Linked DNA regions of Homo sapiens: all the other regions are linked to region 1. Evidence: promoter capture Hi-C in 16 types of primary human blood cells and fetal thymus (Javierre and others, 2016). All regions are on one chromosome and are shown on one strand. Each heading gives the region's core, a stretch centred on a gene start or on the middle of the fragment in contact. The rest is flanking DNA. Distances are from core to core; before and after follow the strand shown.

What was found. Contacts are between HindIII fragments. The CHiCAGO score rates a contact against its expected background, and 5 or more counts as called.
Region 2: a fragment that was not itself captured here is called in contact with the fragment with the promoter of RLIM in region 1 in 1 of 17 cell types (fetal thymus); the score reaches 6.7 in fetal thymus.
Region 3: a contact is called between the fragment with the promoter of PJA1 here and the fragment with the promoter of RLIM in region 1, in 1 of 17 cell types (total B cells). The highest score is 6.3, in total B cells.

Annotation. Positions count from the first base shown.
Region 1 is chrX:74,612,199-74,617,369 of GRCh38, reverse strand. It overlaps RLIM (ring finger protein, LIM domain interacting), which reads left to right and starts at 2,746. Exons shown (of 4, transcript NM_016120.4): 1 at 2,746-2,948. RefSeq lists an enhancer at 2,822-3,141. The HindIII fragment of the contact is 9,843 bases long and covers 1-4,509 here.
Region 2 is chrX:81,122,793-81,127,963 of GRCh38, reverse strand. The region is part of intron 1 of HMGN5 (high mobility group nucleosome binding domain 5); the gene reads left to right. Among named protein-coding and RNA genes, the nearest start is that of HMGN5, 77 kb to the left of the region's middle. The HindIII fragment of the contact is 486 bases long and covers 3,446-3,931 here.
Region 3 is chrX:69,163,518-69,168,688 of GRCh38, reverse strand. PJA1 (praja ring finger ubiquitin ligase 1) reads left to right here and starts at 3,236. Exons shown (of 2, transcript NM_001032396.4): 1 at 3,236-3,317. The HindIII fragment of the contact is 4,972 bases long and covers 2,832-5,171 here.

The DNA.
Region 1 (5,171 bases), core at 1,497-3,996:
GTGATCCGCCTGCCTTGGCCTCCCAAAGTGCTGGGATTACAGGTGTGAGCCCCTGCGCCCGGCCGGTATTTATCTTTTTAAAAATCAATGTTTAACAACTCTTTATAGGCTGATATTAGCCATATGTGTTTATCACATATGTAACATTTTTGCTAGTGTTTCGTCTTTTTATTAAGTAAAGATATTACCCCTTGGCTCTAATATGTCATTATGAAATGATTTTTTTCAATTTATCATTTGTCTTTTAACTTTACCAACCTTGTATTTTGACATTTAGAAGGTTTACTTTTATTTATGAAGTTGTACTTATTAGTCTTTCCCATTATGGATTTTGTGTTGTATTTCAAAAGTGCTTCTGCATCCCCAAGGCTATAGAAATATTAACCTAGGCCTGGACAGTGGCTCACGCCTGTAATCCCAACACTTTGGGAGGCCCAGGCAGGCGGATCATGAAGTCAGGAGTTGGAGACCAGGCTGCCCAACATGGTGAAACCTCATCTCTACTAAAAATACAAAAATTAGCCAGGCGTGGTGGTGCATGCCTGCAATCCCAGCTACTGGGGAGGCTGAGGTAGGAGAATCGCTTGAACCCAGGAGACGGAGGTTGCAGTGAGCTGAGATCATGCCACTGGACTCCAGCCTGGGCAACAAAGCAAGACTCCATCAAAAAAAAAAAAGAAAGAAAGAAGGAAGGAAGGAAGGAAGGAAGGAAGGAAGGAAGGAAGGAAGGAAGGAAGAAAGGACAGAAATAGTAACCTGTATTTTCTTCCACTTCTTTTATGATTTTATATTTTAGATTAAGCCACATAAGCCTCAAGAATACGTTAAGGAGTGGCTAATGTTATTGCCATAATCAGAATATCAGGCTTAATGGCAATTGCAGGCTACTGAAGAATTCCTTTTACACGTTCTAGGTAATCGTTCTAGTACATGATTATGTAAAATAAGACAAAAACCTGAGTAGAGACACAGCGCCTAAATCATGTATCCCTCTGCCAAAAATGACAATATCAATGAGTCTTCTAGGGAGTTGGGCAGGTAAGTATGAGGGATATTGTTTTAACTGCTTGGAGTGAAATACTTATATTCCAGGCTGATATAACATCCATCATGGTGAGGGGGTAATTCTCCCAAAGTATTTTGAGGGCTTACTATGTGGTCGCTGGGGACACAACAGTGAACAAAACAGAGAGGTTTACTGCTCAGAAAGGGTGAAGTAAACAAACAAATAAATAACTTACTTTCAGATTAAGTGTTTTACAAGAAAAGTAAGCAGGTAAGGAGATGGGAGAAGTCGTTATTACTTTTTTCTTTTTTTTTTTTTCCTCAGACCTTTTTCCGCCTTCAGGAAGAAGTTATTTTAGGTAGGGTGGTCAGGGAAGGCTTCTCTAGGAAGTTAATAATTGCGAGGCTTGGATGATGAAAGCAAAGATATGAAAGTAAAATATTCCAGCAAAGGTAAAGTAGTTGAAGTAGGAAGAAGTTAGCTTTGTTGGAAAAACCGTAACAAAGCCAGCATAGCTGGCATGCTATTGGAAAACAGAAAAATTGGGAAAAGGAAAAGAATCTAAAAACTTGGGTAAGGTTTTCCTTTAACTGTGACAATGGGAGTGGCATGCTGTGTGGCGAGTTCCCTCAATTCTTTCAGGCATTACTACCTAAGAAAGGCCTTCTTTAACTGCCCTTTTACAAATCCCAACGTTATCAGATTTTCCCACCCTTTTACAATCACCGCCCTTTTTCGAATACTTTAGAGTTAATGCCTCAAAGTTATCAGTCTTTTAAACATCACGAATCCGTTTGTCCCTACAAGGAACTCTTCTGTCCCCCTTCCTTGATTTTTCTCCTTGGCATTTATCACTAACATGATATGTATTTATGTTTGATTTTTTCTAAATTATTGTCCCTGGCCCCTATAAAGACTCAAGAGAACTGGGATTTTGATCTGTTTTCTTTTTTTTTTTTTTTTTTTTTTTGAGACACAGCCTTGCTCTGTCACCCAGGCTAGAGTGCAGTGGCGAGATCCCGGCTCACTGCAATCTTCGCCTCCTGGGTTCAGCTATTCTCCTGCCTCAGCCTCCCGATTAGCAGAGATTACAGGCGCCCGCCACCACGCCCGGCTAATTTTCGTATTTTTAGTAGAGACTGGGTTTCACCATGTTGGCCAGGCTGGTCTCGAACTCCTGACCTCAGGTGATCCGCCCGCTTCGGCTTCCCAAAGTGCTGGGATTACAGGCGTGAGCCACCGAACGTGGCCTGTTTTCTTTCTTAATTTTGGTCTATTTTAATTTCCTAAGCAGCTACAATGGTGCTTGACATGCAGTTGGCACTGTGTAAATACATGTTGAATAAAACGCAGGCTACTTTTTGAACTGGTCTGCACGGATTGTGTGAACTGATGTGATGTCAGGGTAGACTAATATCACATTTCTCTCTCTCTGAAAATGTCTTCAAGCAGTCAGACCGTGACGTCCTTCAGTTTTCAAAATGGGAAAGCGAAGGTTCCCACAATTCTCAGAACGCAAATTTCTCGCCACAATTCAAAATGGCGGAGGAGGGTGGGGCCTGTCACATGGTGGGCGTCATAACAGCTTTCCTTTTCCAAACCGCCGCCCGCCTTGCCGCGTCGTCTGCCGTCCCCCTCCTCCTCCCGCGGAGCCTTTTCGAGGAATCGACTGGGATTGGCTAATAGGCTGGGAGTGGGGCTGCGGTGCCGGGACGCGGCATCATCACTTCCTGTTGTGGGCAGTCGTTTCCTGTCGCTGCTTGGTAACAATGGGGAAGATAATGGCTGCCTGAGCAACGTCTCCGAGCAGGCGCTGGGCTAGAGGCGGGTCTCAACCAGCTACTCATTGGAGGCGGGCTTGAGAGCGGCGGCCAGGGAGGTGCGGAGCAGCCTCGGCGGCGGCGGCCGAACCAACCGAGTCGGATCCTGACCCTAAAACCTAGTAAGTGAAGACTTGGGAATCCTGTGAGAAATGATGTAGAGCGAGAGGAAGACAGCGGAGCCGCGGCTGCCGCGTTCTCTCAAAATGGCCCGAGTGACGCGTCGTGGCAGAGGCTCAGCGCCGCCTCCGGACCCCAGGCCCGTTGCTGCGGGGGGCTCCGTGGCGTAGTCGCCGCTGCCATTTTAGTTGAGTGGTATAGTCGACAGGCTCTTTGAAGGGGAAGGAGGTGGGTAGTACTTCCTCTCGGTGGCCGCGCGAGCTGCAGCCCAGGCCCTCCGGAGCCTTAGGAAATCGGGGGAGGCAGTTTTTGAGTTTTGGCCTCAGGCGTCAGAATCTTAGAACGTCTCAGGCTTTTTCTTCTCTGTTCTCTGGAGGCTTCCCTGACCTCCCCGCGTTTTCCATGGCGGGCTTGGGTTTGGGAAAAGGGAAGTAAAAAATCAGGCTGCCCCAAGTGAGATGCTGGCAACTCTTGGGCCTTTAGATTTCCAAAACCTCATTTTGAGCCCTTCTGCAGGGTATTACCAATTAGGCGCCCCCTGGGGCCGCGATGACATCTTCCCTGAGGATCTGAGGCAAATGTGGTTTACTCCCTTGCTCGAATAACCCTGGCATATCCTTTGCCAGGTATCACTGGAAGGATCCCCCCGCAAAAGAGAGGGAAAAGCCGTTAGGTGTTTGTTGTGTTCTCCTGGATAAGGGATGGAATTGGGCCAAATTTTCAAGTTAATTTGTGTTTAATCCACCAACAACTCAATCCCTCCCCCATTAAAAAAAAAAAAAAAAGCCTAGGGGGGTCTCTGCTTCTGCAGACGGTACCTGCCACGCATGCCATAGCTTAGTAACTAGTATTAACCGGTTGGGCTTCTGCTTCCTGAATACTCGGTCCCTTTTTCCCTTATGCTGATTAATTTCAAGATGGAGGAGACAGCCACGTTCCTTCCCTAGACAGTTTCACCATACTTATTCCACAGGTTAGTCTGGGAATCTGAGGCCTAGCAGTCTTGTTATTGAGGTCATTTTTTTTTTCATTTTGGGGCAAGAGGAAGCAGTTGTATCAGATTGTCATCTTCCATTTGCAAGACCCCACAATGATTTTTTGCCAGAAGTAAGGAGCCCGCATTTCCTGAATCAGAATTAACCGCAGTGTTTTGGACTGATTGAAAGGGGGAAGAAATAATAAACCTACTGCTACTAATCATTTCTTTCATTCTTCGTGATTATAGACAGAGTAACTACTTATCACCCCATTAAGTACATTGTATCTTCCCTGGAGGACTGGCACAATTATAACCCCTCCCCCCCCATGACTTTTCTAAACTGTAGAAATATAGCTTAGGTAGCTAGAAAGACCAATCCACTTTTTAAAACTTGATTTTAGGACACACTCCACTTACTGAAAAATGTTACAAAGATTTTTTTAGTCCATGATGTTCTGATGAATTTTAATACTTTAGTTCCTACCTTAGGCTAGTGTAATGTGCCAGATAAGTCCTTGAAAGTGACTATCAGAATCTGAAAATAATTACTGGTCTGATAAGGAAAGGCTTATTTTAAGCAAGCTTATAATAAAACGTAAATTGTCTCTCAGTCTTAGAAGACATCTTTTATCTAACTCCTGGTCCCCTCTGACCTTCTTGCTCTCCCCAAATGCCCTAATACTAATATTGAATTAGGTTGGGTTATGGTGTGTCTGTATTTTTTTTTTTAGGTTGTGTCTAATTCAAAGAAAATGTGTATCTTTTTAAAGAGGAAGAATAATGGATTCTTTTTTTTTCTAGAGCAGAGTGAAGAAAACTAAAATCCAGTTTATTGTATTTCAATACTATGTCATAACAGTCAGGTAATTTATTTTTTGTTGCGTCTCCTGATGATTTATGTGTAGAATGCATGTTTACAAATATTTATTGTTCTATTTTGCAGGCCCTGTAATTGGATGGGCTCATTGATAGATGTTAGATGGTGTTGGGTATTCTTCATGATAAGAATGGGTACTTTTCACTGGGAATTAAAAGGGTAATGTTTCTGGATACCTGGAACTCACCAGTGCTTTATCTGTGAATTTGACTCTTTAAAATAATGTCTGAAGTTTACCAATACCTGTATAGAACAACAACAACAAAAAATTTGTTGTCTTATATCATTGTTGGAATGGCATGAGTATAAGTAAAATAACATTTAAATGTTCATTGGATAACTAAATGAAATATCAGAATAGCTTACGAG
Region 2 (5,171 bases), core at 2,439-4,938, 6.5 Mb before region 1:
TTCCTGTACTCTAGCTTTGCTGTGCATTCTAGAGCATTTTAAAATTTAATACCTTTGTTGAAGAGCCATTTGTCCTTTTATCCTCTTAAAGGACTATACAGTTAATGTTAGCAATAGCAAAGATTGCCAATTCCCCATACAAGAAAATCTACTTGAGCTCTGCTACTTCATCAGAGTGTTCATATCTACACTTTGAGGATTAAAGACAACTAGTTTTAACATCATTTTATCTCACCTTAAATGTGTCTAAGTTAAAGCAAGCTCCAGTTGATGGCCCATGTGTTTCAAATAATTTACAACAAAACGAAACAATTCGTAGGTTATATGAAGCTTGTTATAAAATGATAAGTAAGGCTCTAAGTGAATGGATAAAGCCCAAAACAGGAAAAGGAAAAAAAAAATCCTAGCATAACACAAACTGAAGAAAATCAATTGTTACAGACATCTAAAAAATCGCATTTAACTTTAGCTTTTGGTTAAAATGCCATCAGTTTACTAAATTGAATATTTTTCTTAATAAAGATGTTGGTTTCTAACACACAACCTATTTGACAGGTCACCACTATTCTCTCATGAAGGGTGATTATTTCTAATCAACCCTCACTAGTGAACAGTTGGACTACACCGAAAACTGATCTATTCTTGAAAATAGGCTCTTGTCTCATATAGGCAGCCTGGGGCATTTATCAGTTCTTGAATTCTTGTTTCATTTCTTTTTGTAAGAGTAACCAGCATTAGTGAACTTTCTAAGGAGAAAAAGCCTGAACATTAAGGCCAATTAAAATAAACAAAGTGAAAATATAATTGCTTTAAACTAAAGATGTCATTTTTTCAATGTGCCACAATAGCCGCAAAACTTTAGAAGTGTCACAATCTACATTTCCATATTTTAAAAGCTATGAATTAATATCTGTGCTTCTATAAGTTGAGGATGAAGGTTAAACGTTCCTATCATATTAAGATTTTAAAAGTCTATTTCATGCAAAAAAACATAGATATCAACTATACCAAAAGTATAAATTAAGTTCAATAGATAGGATTTAGTAAATACCCTAGAAATTTTCTAAGAGAGTAGATATTAGGTGCTCTTACCACAAAACAATAATTTTTTTGTTGTTGAATATGTTGACTTGCTTGACCGTAGTAATCATTTCATTATATGTATATCAAAACATCATGTTGTACATCTTAATATATACAATTAATCTTTTAATTTTAAACAATAACTATGTATATAAATAAATTTAAGGGAAGCTGAAATCTTATAAAGTAAGAAAGTTTGAAACTCTTTTCAAGTAAATGATGACACCTACTGGATGTTAGAAATCTTCAAATAACATTTAACCAATAATGAATCTCATCCGCAATTTTTATCTGAAAACCTCTTTGCTGGCAAGGGAAAGAAGAAAACATGGGCAAGCATTTGGACGTTCAAGATTAAAAACTCACATTCACCAGACTTACTTTAGACCAAAAAACAAATAAAGGAATAAGGTAAAAAGTAGTTTTTCTCTTCTGAATTTTCTACTTTCTTGAGGTATAGAAAACTGACTAGAGAATACAAGTTTAAGATCATAGATGAGTGAGGATCCAATGAATCAGTAAAAAGATATATCTGAAGTAGGTTGACAGCCAGAGTTTCATCTTGAGTTTTAAGGTCATTGAGATGGAACATAATTCGTGTTTACCAAATGTGTCATTTAGTCATTAACATTTCTGTATAAACTGTGTAATTGCTGATATCACAACCGTAGATAAAATTTTTAGTAAAAAAGTGAAAAAAACTGCCTGATTTTTTTTTTTTTTTTTTTTTTTTGAGACTGCGTCTTGCTCTGTCACCCAGGCTGGAGTGCAGTGGCATGATCTCGGCTCATTGCAACCTCTGCCTCCCAGGTTCAAGCGATTCTCCTGCCGCAGCCTCCCAAGTAGCTGAGATTACAGGCATCCACCACCACACCCCGCTAATTTTTGTATTTTTGGTAGAGATGGGGTTTCACCATGTTGGCCATGTTGATCTCGAACTCTTCACCTCAGGTGATCCACCCGCCTCAGCGTCCCAAAGAGCTGGGATTACAGACGCGAGCCACCACACCCAGCCAACTGCTTAAATTTTAATAGATGATCTTTCGCAAGTCATTTAAGCTCTCTGGGCTTGTGTTTATTCATCTGTATTCCAAGGGTATTGAAACTAGAAAATCTCTATTAGTATCTGCTAAACTTGAATGTCTGAAAGCCTAAAAATAGCATTCTTTTAAATTGTTACTTTAAAAGTCGGTAGAAATTTTACAAATAGAAACATAAAATGTATTATATTCCTTTTACCCCTAGAAAGCAGCTCAATTTACTTTTACCACTGGAAAAATAATCTATCTGTCATATCAGTGGCTACTCTTTAATTCAGTATTTTATTAGTCTTTGGCCTGCTGCAAATAAACATAGGACATAGGAAGATTTGGGTCACCAGAATTACAGTTTTTCCAGAGTCAGTCTCAGCTAAGTGGCATCATCAATTCAAATAAATTTCTGATATCAATCTTAAACAAGGCTCAGAAATAAGTGTATTGATGTATTTGGCTCACTGTAGACTTGGATTTATTTTACCCTCTGAAAATACCAACAAAAAAAATCTAAAACACTGTATTCTAATAATATGATAGAATTCTTGCATTATTTGCTGACAATAGTATATAGTTTTCCAATTTTTTATTTTATTAAAATACAACAGGAATAATAATGGTGTTGCATGAGGTCAAAATTAGAGATATTTTAACAGAGAAAATAAAGTATTTCTTACTAGTCAATCAGTATTTTTGAGATCCCATTGCATGCAAAGTAGTGTATCTAGAATGCTTTTAATTAATCATATATATATATAATTTTAAACTATGAATATACAGAACATTTGAAGACCTGTTTTATCTTGGCTGTTTAGCATTCCTTTTCTCATAAATACATAATATTTTCTTTTGGATTCTCTGTCAATATATCTTAATGTTGGTGCCTTTAATCCATAAATTTTCATATCTTCCTGTGTCATTTTTAACTGGTTACTAAATGGACACGTTACAGTTCCTGTAAATTTTGGGAGTGGTAGTAGGCATGCTTAATAGCCAGGTAAAATTAGGGAATTCTGTGGAGAATTGTCAGGCAATCAATTTTCCTAGTCATTAATAAATTAAAAAGAGAAACAAGCCAACGTAATCTTAGAAAAAAATAGTCCAGTAAAAAGTCTCACTTTGACAATTACACAAAAATAACCTTTTTACTCTGGAATAATTTATCAATTTTAGAAAAATATATTGGAAAAGTAGTAAATTCTACAGAAGGTATGTAGAGTGTGATGTGCTGAGTAAATATTTAGGCAAAAGGAAATAAGTATATACAAGTTTGACCCAATTTGAAGAAGTTTGATGGAGTGGTTGGGAAAAAAAGGAAAAATCAAGCTTGCTTGTGTCCTATGAGTAGTACAATCTAAATTGTATAGTATAACAGCAGGGAAGAATTTCTTAGGGCTAAAATAATTGAAGAAGGCTTTTGTCAAAGAGGTGATATTTGGATTGGGTCTAAACAGTTTGGTAAACATTTGATAGGTGAAGATATTTGAGAATGGGGCTGCAGTCAGAGGTAATAATACTGCAAAGGCAAAGAGCCTAAACAGGTTTGCTAATGTAAAGGACCGCTCTGGTTAATGGTTAGAAGGAAGAACATGAGGAAATGGGGGATTGGGGTCAAGAAACAGAAGAATGTTTCACACTTAGAAAATGTTCTTTTGCATGCATGACTATTTTTTCAATTTAATAAGATATAAATCACAGTTGCAACACGTTAGCCTTCAAGAAGAAAAAACTGGCCAAAAAAGAAAATTGCTGACAAATTTAAGAGGAGTTTTAGAGCTCACTGACCTGCACATTATGCTTTGCTTCTCTAAGCTTTACCTTCCAAGGCTCCTCAAGATAATTTGTTTCAATCCACTTGGACTAGGCACTATGTTCCCTGAACAAGTACAACCTTTTCCTGCCGCTGCATTTGCTGTAATGTAACAGTCTACCGAACTGTTCACAGGCAAGCCAAATTCCACTTCCTCAATCAAACCCTTTGCCAAGTTACCTTAGTCCTAAAAGATCCTTCCCTCCTGTTTTATTATTGAATTTAGATTGCACCATTCAGATAATACAATCAGCTTTGATTTGTAAATAGGTATGCATCTGTTTGCTCAATCCTACAAAATTATAAAATTCCTTAAAGACAGAAGCTGTGTAATGCAACTTTGCATGCTACAGGGTTTCGCATTTTCATAAGCTAGTCTACAAAAACAAAATCCGACTCACAAAATAATGCTAAATAAGAATTTGTTGAATGGATGCATTCCACTGCTGACACATTTTCATTCCCTTCATTTTTCTTCTTATCCTTATGAGGCAATCCTTATATTAAAATCAATTTTTATGCTTATCTTCTAACTGTTGGAGAATAAAATGATTGAAACATATTTAAGTTCACCCAGGAATGCTTTTACCATAAGGGCAAAAAGTGACATCAGGAACATCTAGGGATTATCCCAATAACTGTGGACGAAGGAAGCAATTTAAATATCTTTCTGATTTACTTACTTGAATTAGAATGCAGTATGAAGTTGGGGGAAGGAAACTGAGCAGCAGTCACGCAGGCTCATTCTACCTGATCTATGTAATTCCATACTATCAGTGCTGGGGAAGAATGGGCAATAATAATAATAATAATGATATAAATATATAACAAAATAAAAATAATATAGCAATAGTAAATATAATAATTACAATGGGTTATTCTGTTAGGCTGTATTTTTGCTTGAAGGGATGGTTTGGCACTCTGTAGCAGATACAGTGTTTATCTCTTAAACTGATTATTCCAAATTTTTTAACCTACATAAACACAAATGAATTCTTCCTAAAGTAACTGTTCAAAAGGTTAAATTTCTTTTTTGATTAACCCTCCAGGATAAGGATTTGGGTTGTTGTTTGGGAGCACTTTTATACACAGGTAGCTCTTACAACAACCACATCAAGGCGCCTCTGAGAAAGGGCGGTGGGGAATTAGATCCTCTATTTTAATCATATTTATTCCCAAGTAATTTATTCATCAATCTCCACCTCAACCCTGAAAACTTTAGGTCTCAGAAACTGACACTGAAA
Region 3 (5,171 bases), core at 1,987-4,486, 5.4 Mb after region 1:
CCTCACTTATAATTGCACAAAACAGAAACAGTAGGAAAAGAGATAAATTGGATAACTTATGCAAAAGAAGTCCATACAATAATATGTTATAGTAATGTATTGGATAATTGATACAGTAATATTCAGCAGTTAAAATGCATGACTCAGATCTACAGGTATCAAAATTGCTGAGTTTCAAAAAACAACAGAGTGAAAATCTAAGTTGCAAAAGTATATATTTATAATGATACCATCTGTATAATTTAAATACATGAAACAAAATTGTGTATTGGTCACAGATATATATATGTAAATATATATTATATATCTGTATATATATGTATACATACACTTATATGCACATATACATATATACACATATATACATACATATATATACACACACATATATATATATATATATATATATATACACATACACACACACACAAACATGAACAAGACGACAGCACATCAACTTCCAAATAAGGCTTATTTTCAAGAGAGAGGTCAAGTGAATAGGATGAAGTGAGGGCTTCATCTGTACTATTTTGTTTCAAAAACAGAAGGATCTGAGGATCTGGAGAAAATAAAATTTGCTCAATCCATGTGACAGGTGCATTAAAATGTGTATTTTATACTCTACTTTTCTGTATAGTTGACATATTTAAAAATATTTTTATAAAGAAAATGTATCCTCTCTTGAGTCCAAAAATACATATACAAGCTGGGCACAGTGGCTCACGCTTGTAACTCCAGCACTTTGGGATACCGATGCAGGTGGATTGCTTGAGATCAGGAATTCGAGACCAGCCTGGTCAACATGGTGAAACCCCATTTCCACTAAAAAATACAAAAACTAGCTGGGTGTGGTGGTGCACACCTGCAGTCCCAGCAACTCAGGAGGCTGAGGCAGGAGATTGCTTGAACTCGGGAGGTGGAGGTTGCAGTGAGCCAAGATTTTACCACTGTACTCCAGCCTGGATGACAGAGCAAGACTCTGTCTCAAAAAAACAAAAATACATATACATTCGGTATATTGTACTGTCCCATTTCCTCATATCGTTATTTATTTTGCAGTCTATTTGATTTATCTATACCATAAGAAATGAGGTGAAGTTTCCCACTATAATTGCAGACTTCCTGATCTCTCTTTATATTTCTAACAGTATTTGCTTTATATATTTTGAAACTACATTGTTTGGCACATAAATTTTTGTGACTATCATATGTTTTTTTTTAAAATGCACTGTTCTGCAACATGCTTTTTTCACTTAATATATTTATATTAGACCAGTACATATATACATATATACTTGCCTTCTTTCTTTCTTTCTTTTTTTTTTTTTTTTTTTTGAGACAGGGTCTGACTATTGCCCAGGCTGGATCACAGTGGCGCAATCTTGGCTCACTGCAGCCTCAACCTCCTGGGCTCAAGTGATTCTCCCACCTCAGCCTCCCAAGTAGCTGGGACTACAGGCACGTACCATTGCGCCAGGGAAATTTTTACGTTTTTTTTGTAGAGATGGGGTTTCACCATATTGTCCAGGCTGGTCTCAACTCCTGGGCTCAAGCAATCCTCCTGCCTTGGTCTCCCAAAGTGCTGCGATTACAGGTGTCAACCACCATGTCTGTACATGAGCCACCATGCAACATGTTTAAATAAATTTAAACAATTTATTTGTTGAGGAGAATTAAAGTTGTTTGCATTATCTTGCTACACTCCTATTCACATATCTTTCTCCATTTGTGTGTCTCAATAGAACACACAATAGAGCAATTGACTAGAAGTAGAATTGCTAGATGAAAATGTATCTCCATTAAAAAATTTGATAGTTTCAGATTTCTCACCAATGAAGTTCTATTATTGTTATTATTATCATCATCATTTTGAGATGGCATCTTGCTTGGTTGTCCAGGCTGGAGTGCAGTGGCGTGATCTTCACTCACTTCAGCCTCAACCTCCTGGGCTCACACAATCCTCCTGCTTCAGCCTCCTAAGTAGTTGGGACTACAGGCACACACCACCAGCTTGTCATATCTTTCTCAGTGAATAAAGCAACCTGTTTTGTTCTCTTTAGTTCTTTTTACTTTGAGTTCTCGATGTTTAGGATATTGATATTGTTACGAGTTTGTTTCCTCCTTCCTTTCCTTCCTTTTTTTTTTTTTTGCTTCTTTCCTTCCCTCATTCCCTCTCTCCCTTTTTTCTGCTAGTATTTTACTCTCATATATTTTTTATTCCTATTTCTGCTTTAGGTGAAACTCACATAAATAGAATATAACTTAGCTTTTAAAAACAAAATGCTCAAAATAAGAGTTTGGTTTTTATTAGGAGATGTTAACCCATAATGCATGCTGATATATTTGGATTCCTGCATTTTTGTTTTCTTTTTGCATCCTTTTTTTTGTACCCCCCCAGCAACATTTCTTGACCTTTGTTAAGAATGAGTTTTTCTCTTTGTTCCACATATTATTACTTTAATGGTTTGAAAGTTATACATTTTATTTCTATTATGTTGTTACCCCTAAGATTTTTGTTCTATTATGCATTTTGTTTCCAGTAAGAACAAAACTTTGCTACTGTTGTGAACATGGGAAATGTTTACATTGGCTGTAAATACTAGAGTTCCATTATAAAGCGCAATTTAAAGACTTCAGAATTCAGTAAAATGGTATAAATCCAAAAGGCGTAACTACAATATTTTTAACTGCAATGCAATAACAGAATATGAACCTGTGTTGTGTCCTATGATCTCTTGGACAGAGAAGCTTGGTTTTGTGATTAGCAGCAACAAATTCAACATAAACAGCTTCAATTTGCTTTAACCATCAGGTTAAAAAAAATTTAAGCTTACTGCAACCCTAAATATGGTTTCACAGTTTTAATACTTTCGGTACAACCATAACACGTAACATAGGATGTGATGTAGTAACGTAATTACTCTCACATTGGACTTAATCAGAAAGAATTTGCAGATTTTATTTTATTTATTAAAAAACCAGAAGGCAATATAGCTAAATGTTTAACATTAGTTAAAGCTGGGTGTTTGTGACATTTTTCGCTGTCCTTTTCTGTATCCTTGACGATTTCATCATTTAAGATGAAATAATGCTTTCGGGCCCACCCTGATTTGTGGAGAGCAGCTGCCGCCCCCGCCACATCAAGGAGGCGGGCTCCAGCTGACTTCACAATCACTTCCGCCGCCGCAGTCGCCGCCCGCCCCGCTGCTGTCTGGCGGGGGAGGAGCTCGGGACCGGGAGCAGCGGCTCTGGCGGTCGTGGCGGTCGGAGATCCGAGAGCTCTGCTTCTCTGAAAAGCGTGTGGCTTTCTGGACTTGGTGAGTGAAAGGCTGATTGTTTCCTCGATTCATCCGGGCGCTGGCGGTGGCGCGAGTGGCCGGGCGCGGGGCGAGTGGCCGGGCACGGGGGCGAGGATTTTGGGGGGTTCCTGGGAACTGCTTTTCAGGTTCGCCCCTCGGGAAGGGGTGGGGCGGACGCGGGACCTGACTGCAGAGTGAGGCCCATGTCCTCCATCGGCCTGTTCTGGGGCCACATCTTCCGCTGCCGGAACCCCTTTGGTGTGGCGCGGTCCCCACTCGAGTGGCTTTCATCGCTATTGGGAGGGCAGTGGTGGTCGCGGCCCTCTCCCACTTCTCCCTGCCTCTCCTCCCCTCTCCTTCCTTCTTCCCTCCTCGGCCCCTTTGCGGAGCACTCCGTGGCCTTTCTTCCCATATTTTGCTGTTGTTTTGCCAAATGGTAAATGGTTAAGATTTTTAGGTAAAAATACTGTTCCCAGGGAAAAAATTGGAAGGAAAAAATAATTATTCTCAGGGAAAACTAGACCCACGCACGCCCTTTTCTTTCATTTTCCCTCTCCCCTGCCACATCGGTTGGGGTCTCCCGTTTGAGCTGATGGCCTTTTCCCACCTCTTTTTATGACATTGCGTCCCCCCTACCCCCCACCCCCCGTGTGTCGCGAGCACGCGCCCCCGCACAGAAGCCTTCCATTGCAGCCCCCTCCTTGCCCCTCCATCCTCAAGGTTCCAGTGCTTCCCCTCCCCCGCGCATGCGCAGGCACACGCAGCACACACCCTCTCACACACCCTCACACCCTCACACCCTCCCATGCCTTCCCCCTCCTCTATCCGCCTACCACATACACACCTCTAGCACCGGCCCCCTCCCTGCTCGGCCTCTGCGTGCTCTCGCGAACACATGCCTATTCACACACCCCCTCCGGCTGCCCTCCTTCTTCCTTCCTGTCATATACACACATAAGGACATCCTTCTATCGCTGGCCAGTGACATACATATGTAGCCACATGTGCTCATTCATACCCCCTTCTCAAATGCTCTCCTCTATTGCTCTGTCTGCCACGTGTGTCAGACACAGCTCTCTTTTGCTGGTCCCTGAGGTGCACACACTCGCACTCACATAAATCCTTCTACGGGGACACAACCTGCCTCCCTGCTTGCCATATCCACACAGGCAGGCATCATTCTTTGATTGCCTGCCTCTGTTCCATCCACCTCAAGCACATCCCTCTCCAGTGCTGCGCACCCCCCACCCCCGCTTCCATTTGTGCCTGCTGCATTTGCTCACACTGACATTTCTCCATTGTTGCCTCCCATTTTGACTAACATACACACACACAAACTCTCAGACACTCCTCTCCATTGCCAACCATACACTCCTCTGCCTGTGACATACGCATAAACATGGGCATCCTTCTGTAGTTTCAGCTGCCTCACATACAGCTACACACACAAACACCTTCCCTTTCCTCATACATACACGCACCCCTCTCCTCCAAAGCCACCCCACCCATGCCTGTCATTTTCATACCCACATCCAGAATGGGTCTCATTCTAACACTCATACCCTTTCCCCCTACAAACGTAAACATCCCTCTGTTGCAGGATTACTGGTCCCCTTCCACCTGTCCCTCTCCTCTTGATAGACAGACACATAGGCACTCGTGCACACACGGCGATCTGTATTTTCCACTCTATTCCAATTTGCATTTCTCCTGTATGTCTGCAGCACTCAGAAAAATGCAGACACCCCATAAAAAAAACTATAGCAGTCTTTCCTTTCCCCACGTTGCACAATTCCACAGTACTTCACCCACCTTCCAAGCGTCCAGTCACCCCCCAACCTTCCGTCAGATTCTCCTCTAAGTCTGGCTTTC